Regions from separate parts of the Homo sapiens genome. Here region 2 is linked to region 1. The links are contacts of gene promoters, found by promoter capture Hi-C in blood cells and fetal thymus (Javierre and others, 2016). All regions are on one chromosome and are shown on one strand. The core of a region is centred on a gene start or on the middle of the fragment in contact, and the rest is flanking DNA. Distances in the headings are between cores, read along the strand shown. Region 1 holds the start of BFAR (bifunctional apoptosis regulator). Region 2 holds the start of HAPSTR1 (HUWE1 associated protein modifying stress responses).

Region 1 (5,251 bases), core at 2,552-5,051:
GTAAAGAGTTTCAGACTGTGAAGATGAAGAAGTCCTAGAGATGGATGGTGATGTTTGCACAGCAATGTGAATGTACTTAATGCCACTTAACTGTAAAGCCACTTAAAATGGCAAATTTCATGTTATACCTATTTTACAATCAAGAAAAAAAACAGTCTGACCCTAATCCTCAAGCTCTCTGCAATGTACACGCCGCACTGTTTTAAGCAGCATCAAAACCATCATCTCTATCTGAGATCCTGAGTCCAATCACAAACCTACGGCGTATCTTCATTTCTTTCGTGCTTTTGAAACGTTTAAAGGGTAACACTGAGACCTGTGAAACCCGCCCAAGGCTACTAACAGCAAGAGGCCACCACCAAGCATAAGAAGTTGGGGGCTGGGGGATTGAAGGAGCCTTGGCTATGCACTGCAAAGTGCTAGCCTGAGCTTGCAAGGGAGGGATACCTGAAAACTCCCCATCGATGGCGAAGAAGTCGGCCTCCTCTATGGCCTGGTACACTTTGTGAAGATTACTCTTAAAATCTGCGGAGAAACCGAAAAGAGGCTCAGAACCAGTGGCCTGAATTCCTGCTAAGGGGAGAGGGAAGGAGGGCCGAGGAGCTCCCGAGGCTGAGAGCCGGAAGGGGAAAAGTCCCGGAGGTGTGCACCGGGGCGAGGGGAATCAAGTCCTCGAGGGGTGCATGGGTCAGGGGGGACAAGCCCCGGGGGGTGCCCGGCCCGGAGAAGGACAAGGCCCCGGATGGTGCCGGGGTTGGAGGAGTAAGTACAAGGCTCCTAGGGTGCACGGTCCGCAGCCGGAAAAGACCCCAAGAGGCGCACCGGCTTAAGGAGGGAAAAGCCCTGAGGGGCTGCCTCAGCCCCAGGCCCAGCCAAACACGCCGGCCATGGTCTCGGCCTAGCAGGCCAGGGGCAGCCGGGTGTGGGGAGGCGGGGAGGTGTACGGCGGACACGCACTGCTCCTGATTATCTCCATTCTGCAGAGTGGCCGGAACCTTGGCCCCACCCGGGCCCGCGCCCGCCTCAGCGGTTCTACTCGCCGAATTCCGCGGCGACTGCGGCAGTAGCTGAGGCAGCCGCAGCGGTGACGCCGGCCGCGACTTCCGGAAACAGCGCGCGCCTGCTGCGCTTGCGTCAGCGCCTGCGCGGCGGCGGGGGCGGGGCCAAGGCTGGGCTCCTTTCCCTCCTTATAGGGACAGGGGAGGGGCGTGGCTATCGAAGTCCCCAAGGCGTGGCCTAATTTGTGCGGGCTTTCACTTCAGTAGAAAAAATGTGCATGTCTCGACATCCAGTCGACCAGGAAATACTGACTGGGTTTCTGTGATATGCTAGCCACTCTTACAGGGGTGGAGATACAGTGATGAACAGGAAGACGTGCTCCCTGCCCCATTGTAGCTTAAACTTGGGGTAAGGGGAAATTCAGGCAGGAGTGAAACTTGCCATTTGGTAACACATGAAAATCGCTATTAAGAAAAAGAGCGGGGCGATGTAATAGAGAATAATGGGATCCGGGTGCGGTGGCTCACGCCTGTAAGCCTAACACTTTGGGAACCCGAGGCGGGAGGATCCGTTGAACTGAAGAGTTCGAGACCAGCCTGGACAGCATAGTGAGACCTGTCTCTTAAAAAAATAAAATTAGGCCGGACCCGGTGGCTTATGCCTGTAATCCCAGCACTTTGGAAGGCCGAGGCGGGCGGATCACGAGATCAGGAGTTCGAGACCAGCCTGGCCAACATAGTGAAACCCTGTCTCTACTAAAAATATAAAAATTGGCTGGGCTTGGTGACTCATGCCTGTAATCCTAGCGATTTGGGAGGCAGAAGCGGGCGGATTACCTGAGGTCAGAAGTTCAAGAGCAGCCTGGCCAACATGGTGAAACCCTGTCTCTATTAAAAATACAAAAAATTAGCCGGGTGCAGTGGTGCGCGCCTGTAATCCCAGCTATTCGGGAAGCTGAGGCAGGAGAATCTCTTGAACCTGGGAGGCGGAGGTTGCTGTGAACCGAGATCACGCCACTGCACTCCAGCCTGGGTGACAGAACGAGACTTGTTTTCAAAAAAAAAATTAAATTAAATTAAAAGAATAATAGGGGTTGTTACTTAGGTGATCACGGAAAGCAAAGCTGAGACCCTTAGCTACTGCATTAGCCTCTGGGAATACTATGTCGAGTGCAACATATGAGGCCCGGCCCTAATGGAATTGTATGTTGGTTTGGGGTTGCTGTTCTCCAATGCCTAGCACTGGGCTGACACGTAGTAGACACTCAATAAGCATGGGTTGAATGAATACATTCAGGTTGGTCTTTCACAAAAGCCAACTATGAAAAGTTGGTTAGTGCCGGATGCGATGGCTCACGCCTGTGATCCTGGCACTTTGGGAGGCCGAGGCAGGCGGATTGCTTGAGGCCAGGAGCTCGAGACCAGCCTGGGCAACACGGTGAAACCCCATCTCTACTAAAATACAAAGAATTAGCCTGGCGTGGTGGCGCACCCCTGTAGTCCCAGCTACTCGGGAGGCTGAGGCAGGAGAACTGCTTGAACCCGGGAGGCGGAGGTTGCAGTGAGCCAAGATTGTGCCACTGCACTCCAACCTGGGCGACAGAGCGAGACTCCGTCTCCAAAACAAACAAACGAACAAAAGGAAAGTTGATTAGAAGACCTATTTTCAAAATCTATCTCAGCCACTTATTAGTTCTGGAATGCATTAAACCTTCCTAAACCTCAATTTCCTGGGATTGTATTGAGGCTCAGTGGTGCTAATGAATGTGAACTGGGAAGCAGCGTATTAATAAATCTGTATAAATAACTGTTTAATGGGGGCCTGGCGCCATGACTCACACCTGTAATCCCAGCGTTTTCGGGGGCTGAGGCAGGAGAATCGCCTGAACCCAGGAGTTCCAGACCAGCCTGGGGAAAAGAGCGAGACCCTGTCTCCATAAAAATAAAATGAAATTTTAAAATGAGCCAGGCGTGGTTGTGCACGCCCGTAGTCCCAACTATTCACGAGGCTGAGGTGGGATAATCGCTTGAACCCGGGAGGCGGAGGTTGCAGTGAGCCAAGATCGTGCCACTGTACGCCAGCCTGGCGGGTGAGAGTGAGACTCTGTCTCAAAAACAAACAACAACAACAAAACAAAACCAAATAATCAGCATAAGTTCTAGACGCTGTGACCTAGACGCTGGGAAGGGGCGAAACGTGGTGATAAGAAAACCATTTCAAGCTGTACGAGGTGGCTCACGCCTGTAATCGCAGCACTTTGTAAGGCTGAGGCAGGAGGATCCCTTGACGCCATATGTTCAAGATCAGCCTGGAAAACGCAGCGAGACCCCATCTCTACGAAAAAAAAAATATTTTAATAGAAATAAAAGTCATTTAATTCCGATTCTTAACACCGTAAATTGAACGTATAGTCCTGTGATTTTCTACATAAAATGTGAAGGCAAAAAATAACTGTAGAGAGTACGGTGCGGCCTTGTAATATTTTAATTTCTAGGCAAAGCTTGTATCCTCCGGATACAAGAACAGCCGCCCAGGAGGAGCGGAAACTGACACACACCCGTCACCCCTTGGGCTGTGACTGCCGAGCCCGGGTACTCGGTCTCTGGGTGAAGAGGAAGGGGCGGGACCGGCGGTATTACGCATGCGCCCACTTCCTCCGGCTGGGAGTGGCCGCTCTAGGCAGCGGGGAGGTCGCGGGGTTGAGGGGGGTTGTGAAAGGAGAGCGGCCTCTCCTCTATGGTCACGGGGCCGGGGCACGCTTCCCCCACTCTGTCTTGTTACTTCCGGTAGCGAAGCCTCTCCCTCTTCCTCTGCTCCCGCGGGGTCTGTGCTGAGAATAATGGCCCGGTTGGCCCGGGACGAGTGGAATGGTAAGCCGCGACACGGCTGGGGGGTGCTGAGGGGGCGACTCGGGCTTGATATCGGGGAGTGATGTGGAAGACGGAGCGGGAATCCCTTCTGCGGAGCCTCCCCAGCCGGGTCGTAGGAGGCGCGCGGGGCCTCTCCTCACGCAGGCCCGAGTCCTGAGCATCCCCACTCCTGGCCGCGGGGTTCGGACCCCAGCTTGGCCAACTGCGCTATCCCTTCCCGAGAGCCCCACGTCCGCACAGCCGGTCGCTGGGCCTCGCCTGCGTCCTTTCGGGGGTCAGGGTCAGAGCCACTCCCTCCTGGGGCTCCCTAGGGCGGGAAGGAGGAGGGGTCGCTTCCAAACACCTTGGAGGGGAACCACGGGGCGCCTGCCCGCCAGGAGCGCTTGCCACACCCTGCAACAGCCGGACCAGAATTGATGAGGCTTCTGATAGTCGCCACGCTGAGTTTACGGTCTAATTGTCGAGGCACGTTCCTGGCCTAAGGCGGAGCGATTGTGCCCATTCTTTAAAGTAGGGTGACCGAAGCGCAGAAGGGAGAAAGTGAAATCCCAAAGTCACACTGGGGCCAGGCAAGAACTCGGCTCTTCTGATTCTGCGACTTGCGGCTCGGAAATAACTTAGGCAAAAGAGAATTTTCTTTTTTTTCTTTTTAGAGACGGAGTCTTGCCCTGCCGCCCAGGCTGGAGTGCGGTGGAGCAATCTCGGCTCACTGCAACCTCCGCCTCCCAGGTTCAAGCGATTCTCTTGCCTCAGCCTTCTGAGTAGCTGGGATTACGGGCCCGCGTAACCACGCCCGGCTGATTTTTGTATTTTTAGTAGAGACGGGGTTTCACCATGTTGGTCAGACTGTTCTCGAACTCCTGGCCTCAAGTGACCCACTCGCCTCGGCCTCCCAAAGTGGGGAGATTACAGGCGTGAGCCACCGCGCCCGGCCGAGAATTGTCTTTTATTAAAAAAGCCGGCGGGAGGGGGCGACAGATGAGAGTCAGGTTGTGTCTAAACGGGGACCTTTGGAGGGGCAGGAGGCAGCATCCCAGCTTCCGCGGAAAACAGAGTGAGAGCCTAGACGCTGTTAAGCCCTCAACTGTCGCCATTGGGTCCTCCCCGCCGAAGCCCATTGGTCGGTCCTTTGCAAGGGGGGTGGTCTTGATGTCATGCTCCAAATCGCCAATAGGAAAGAGCTTTACTCTCTTCCCAGGACACACCCCCGAGCCGGCAGGGACTGCACGTGCTGATGGGGTTGTTTTGTTTGTTCTTGTCGCTGCTGTTTTCTCAACATCCAGCCTGGGTGTATCCTGACAGGTGTGCTCTGCATTTCCCTATATCCATAAACTTGATGGAGACATTGTATTTCTCCAGGGCAGTTCTTTTTGTTTGCTTTT
Region 2 (4,792 bases), core at 1,393-3,892, 5.5 Mb before region 1:
TTCCCACGTGCTACCATGAATGCAGAAATGTAGAAATTGACATATCAACAACCATTGATCGTACACTCAGCAGGCAGTTTTATTGATTGATTGATTGATTGAGATGGGGTCTCTGTCACCCAGGCTGGAGTGTAGTGGCACTATCTCGGCTCACTGCAACCTATGCCTTCTGGGCTCAAGCAATCCTCCCGCCTCAGCCTCCTGAGTAGCTGGAACTACACGTGTGTGCCGCCATGCCTGGCTGTGTTTTGTATTTTTTTGTAGAGACTGGGTTTCACTATGTCGCCTAGGCTGGTCTTGAACTCTTGAGTTCAAGCAATCCTTGCGTCTTGGCCTCCTAAATTGTTGAGATTATAGGTGTAAGCTACCATGCCTACCCTCCTAAAATATTTAACTCATATACCTTGTGACTCTAAAATACTATTTCTGAGGATATATATTCAATACACATATGTATATATGCAAGGATGTTCACTGTATTACATATGTACAAGATGTTCATTATGGCATTGTTTATAATAGCCAAAGACTGGTCACAATCTAAATTTGTATCAATAGGGGCCCTGTAAAATACTTTGTAGTGAATCCATACAATGAAATTATTTGCAATATTTTAAAAGAATAAATAAGTCTTTAGGTCCCAATGTGGAGACATCCAAATTATGTTAAGGAAAAAAGGCTTGTAGGATAGTACACATAAAATCATCTTTTTTTTTCCTTAAGAAGGGACATACTTGTATATAGGTACACACACACATACACACTCGACGTACACATAACTCCGTTTTCAAAGGTCACAAGTTATTTCCTGGGAATAGGATTGGGAGGATGTAGAATGAGGTAGGTAGAATGATTTTTGTTTGCTTTTCACTTTATATTCTTCCCTACAATTGGAAACCTGTTTTTTAGCCACCGCGCCAGGCCTAATTTAGCATTTTAGATAGTGATTGATGTTATGAAATAATATAACCAGGCAATACGAGACAGTGTGAAGGGTGCTACTTTAGGCTTGTCCTAGTAGGCTTCCTAAACAGGAGCTATCTGAGGAAAGAGGAGGAGGAAGAGCTTCCAGAGATAGCAGACTGGGGCAGGAAAGAGCCTAGTGTCCCAGGGAAATAAGGCAGGCCAGTGTGTGAGCGTCCAGGCGAGGTGGGGAAGAGGGGGAGTGCGCAAGGTACAAGCCAAGTAGGGGATTGTGTGAGAGGCGCCAGGGCCAGATCCTGCAGGGGTTTGCAGGCCGCGGTGAGGGGGTCAGATTTTCTTCCAAAGCCGCCTTGCTCTGTGCAAGCGCACTATCGCAGGCTGCGGGCGACGCTGCCTCTGGCCGGCGCCCTCCGCCGCTCCAGGCCGGATGGTGCCTCCCGTGGGCATGTAGGTGGGGATGGTGGGTTTTGCCTCTGTGCGGTCACCGCCTGTCTGCGTTGCTGCCTTCTCCGGGGCCTCAGACCCTGGAGAAAGCCCCGACAGGGGAGGGGGGCGCGCAGCCGCAGGGGCGTCCAGCTATCGCGCACTGCGGGGGGAGTAGGGGCGGGCGCAGCGCTCGGCACCGCCACGCGGGTTCGGGCCGGGGAAGGCAGGGGCCGGTACGTGACGCGGGGCATGCACGTGGCCTGGGAGTGTGCTTTTCGGGACAGGTGCGGGGGCCGCCGCGCGCGCAAAGGCGCAGACGCACGCGTGCGGGCACCGGGCACCGTCGGCCGTCGGGTTATCCTTGGCTCCGCGGGCGGCCGCCGAGGTCCTGTCCACCCGGAAGGCGCGACGTCCTCGGGGGACGCCAGGGCGCAGGGGCAACTGAGCCGACTTCGCAACTCGGAAGTTTTTCTTTGGCTGTGATGGTCGATTTGCCCGTCTAAGAAATGGGACTCTGGGCCGGGCGCGGTGGCTCAAGCCTGTAATCCCAGCGCCCTGGGAGGCTGGAAGATCGCCTGAGGCCAGCAGTCTAGACCTCGACAACGTAGCAAGACCCCGTCTCAAAAAAAAAAAAAAAAAAGGGGGAGTACTCAAAAGAATAGGAAAGCGCTTTGCAAACTTGGACACGAGTTGGGCGTTTTATTCACTTTCTCTACTACCCTCCTCCCTTTGGGAGCCCCAGGGGCTGGAGTAAGCACGCTACCACCCACTATACCTCTCAGTGCCCGCGGCACAGGAGCCGCACTCGACTTTGCATCCCCCCAGGGCCTGTACACGCCGGAAAAGCTCCCGCGGGGTGCGGTCGCTGGGCCTCGTCACGTGATCCCCACTCAACGCCCCTGAGCGGGGGGGGGAGCAGCGAGCAAGTGCGCATGCGCATCCCTTCTAGCTCTTCCCCTCCACCCCCCACCCGCCCCCTTGGCTCGGACGCAACCACTGTCAGCTCCTCCCCCTCCTCCTCCTTCATCCTTCCTGACATTCACTCCCTTCCCCCAGCCAATTGGTTACGTCAGGCAGACAGGCCGAAGAACCAATCACGACGCTGTGCTCAGAAGCCGCCACGCGGAACCGGCCGGATCCGACTAATAGGGGCCCTTGGAGCGGCCACGCCTCAACCGGGCAGGGTAGCTTGGGCCCAGTGGGCGGTGCTTCTCCTGTCAGCATGTGGGCGGGGTAGGGCGGGGACCAGCAGCCGCAGAGCCGTCCTCGGCGGTGGCGACGACGACGACGTTGCTCAGTCTTGGGGTGGGCTCCGCGGTGCAGGCCGAGCTGCGCGGAGGGCTCGGCGATCAGCGGCGGCGGCGGCAGTGGGGAGGCCGCAGCGCCATGGGGGGGCGTTAGACAGGCTGCGGCGGCCGAGGCGAGGGGCGGCAGCGGTTATCTGGTCCGCGGCGACCTTCGGCCGGGCCCGGGGGTGGGAAGGCCTGGGGCGGGGGTCGTCCCTGGTTGCACGGGGCCGCGGGGCGGGGCTCGCCGGCCGTCGGGGTGCAGGAGGCCTGGGCCGCTGAAAGGAGAAGGCGCCGTCGGTCGCCAGGCCCTGCCGCCGGGCCGCTTGACGACGACGCTCCCGCGGGGGCCCCGCCTGAGGAGGACGCGGCGGCGGTGGCGGCGAGGCCGCGGGAGGCCGCGGAGGATGGAGGAGCGGAAGGAGGAGGGCGAGGCCGAGATCCAGGAGCACGGGCCCGAGCACTGGTTCTCCAAGTGGGAGCGGCAGTGCCTGGCCGAGGCCGAACAGGACGAGCAGCTGCCCCCCGAGCTGCAGGAGGAGGCGGCGGCCGCCGCGCAGCCCGAGCACAAGCAGCAGAAGCTGTGGCACCTCTTCCAGAACTCGGCCACCGCCGTGGCCCAGCTCTACAAAGGTGAGGCCGCCGCCGCCATCTTGGTACCGCTTGGCCGCCCCCGCCCGGGCCCGGCCCCGGCCCTATCGGCTCAGCGGCCGCTTCGGGGGGCCGCGACGGCGGCGGCCTCGGGGATCCCGGCCGGTGGCTCCGCGGCCCTGCCGCCCCCTCCCCGCAAGATGGCGCCGCGGGAGGGAGGCCCGGGGTTGGGGGGACAGGCCAGAGCCGGCGTGGGGGTAGCCCCGCTTTGGGGTGGTCCGAGGGTCCCCGCTCTCCGGGCCCGGCCACCCGGTGTCCCCCTCGGCCCGGAGACGGGAGAGGAGGAGCCCCCGTCACAAAATGGCGAAGGGAGACGGCGGGGCGGCCCCATTGTGCCCTGAGCCGGCCTCGGGGCGGGGACTGCCAGGGGGGGCGCTTCCCTGCGCCGCGGCTCGTCCCTGATCTGTGCCCCTGAGCTCTGCGGCATCCCCTTTTCCCCGCCGCGACCTCCCTGCCCCCCCGGTCCTCACACTGGGTTTGGGATCCCGAAACCCCTGAACAAAATGGCGAAACCTAATATGGCCGTTCCGGAGTGATTGACGCGCAAATAACATTCTTGTTCTCTTTCTTTCTCTTTCTATGTGTGTTTCTTTTTTCTTTTTGGTTTTTTTTTTTTTTGGCTTGCTTTTCAGACCGAGTGTGTCAGCAGCCAGGACTTTCTCTCTGGGTCCCCTTCCAAAACGCAGCCACCGCCGTCACCAATCTCTACAAAGGTAAAGATAACCTTGCTGCATTGCCGATTCAGGGAAGGGCCGCCTGCGTCAGGGTGTCTGCCCTGCGTTCCAAGTGTGTTTTCTGCTCCCCAGCCCAGCTGCTAACCTTGAATACCTTGCAACTTGAGAATCGCGGCGGTGCTCTAGCTAGATCCACCGGAGGCGATTTTGACACCTCCCTCCGCCCCCCGGGACAGATGGCAACGCCTGGGGACGTTTTTGGTTGGCTTCTCCTAGAAGGGGCTGTTGTTGGGCACCCAGTGTATAGAGGCTGCTGAAGGTCCTGCAGTGCCCAAGATAACCGCCCCGGCCCCCTCTCAGCGAAGAATTATCATGCCCCTAAAGTCAGTAGTGCTCAGGTTGAGAAGCGTTGAGCTGGAAGACGGCTGAGCCTTGCCTCCCTCTGGAAAAGACATTGAGGGAAGATAAGAGTTGATGTTTTTTGTACTACAGTCGGAAGTGGGACGAACTTTATGGAAAAGATTCTTGAGTTAGGCATTTGAAAGCGTGGCAGTCTATATAGTTTTGAAGTGCTTGAAAGCTTGCTAATCGGAGTCATCTGCGCGCATGTTAACGTGCTGCTCTTCTCTAGCAATTTGATCAAGTGTTTTCTGTTAAAAGGATCCTATATTTGATTATAAGTTGCTGGCAGGAATTCTGTTGAGAGTTTTGAGTCCATAGGTTTGTTTTATGGTGGTTCCTTTCTGGAGTTAATCCCCCTCCCTTTGTGATGACATGAAGATGTGTAAGTAAACGTTCTTGCCCATTTGTGCATTCTTGGTAACGGTGGGT

The links. Contacts are between HindIII fragments. The CHiCAGO score rates a contact against its expected background, and 5 or more counts as called.
Region 2: the fragment with the promoter of HAPSTR1 here is called in contact with the fragment with the promoter of BFAR in region 1 in 1 of 17 cell types (fetal thymus); the score reaches 5.5 in fetal thymus.

The regions. Positions count from the first base shown.
Region 1 is chr16:14,629,150-14,634,400 of GRCh38, forward strand. BFAR (bifunctional apoptosis regulator) reads left to right here and starts at 3,802. Exons shown (of 8, transcript NM_016561.3): 1 at 3,802-3,869. It overlaps PARN (poly(A)-specific ribonuclease), which reads right to left and starts at 1,111. Exons shown (of 24, transcript NM_002582.4): 1 at 958-1,111; 2 at 448-525. The coding sequence starts at 976. RefSeq lists enhancers at 79-602, 603-1,124, 1,125-1,647, 3,247-3,814, 3,815-4,384. The HindIII fragment of the contact is 17,820 bases long and covers 3,498-5,251 here.
Region 2 is chr16:9,089,002-9,093,793 of GRCh38, forward strand. It overlaps HAPSTR1 (HUWE1 associated protein modifying stress responses), which reads left to right and starts at 2,643. Exons shown (of 4, transcript NM_014117.3): 1 at 2,643-3,269; 2 at 3,920-4,000. The coding sequence starts at 3,044. RefSeq lists enhancers at 808-1,673, 3,943-4,112 and silencers at 1,584-1,714, 2,503-2,572, 2,743-3,082, 3,293-3,792. The HindIII fragment of the contact is 14,700 bases long and covers 1-4,539 here.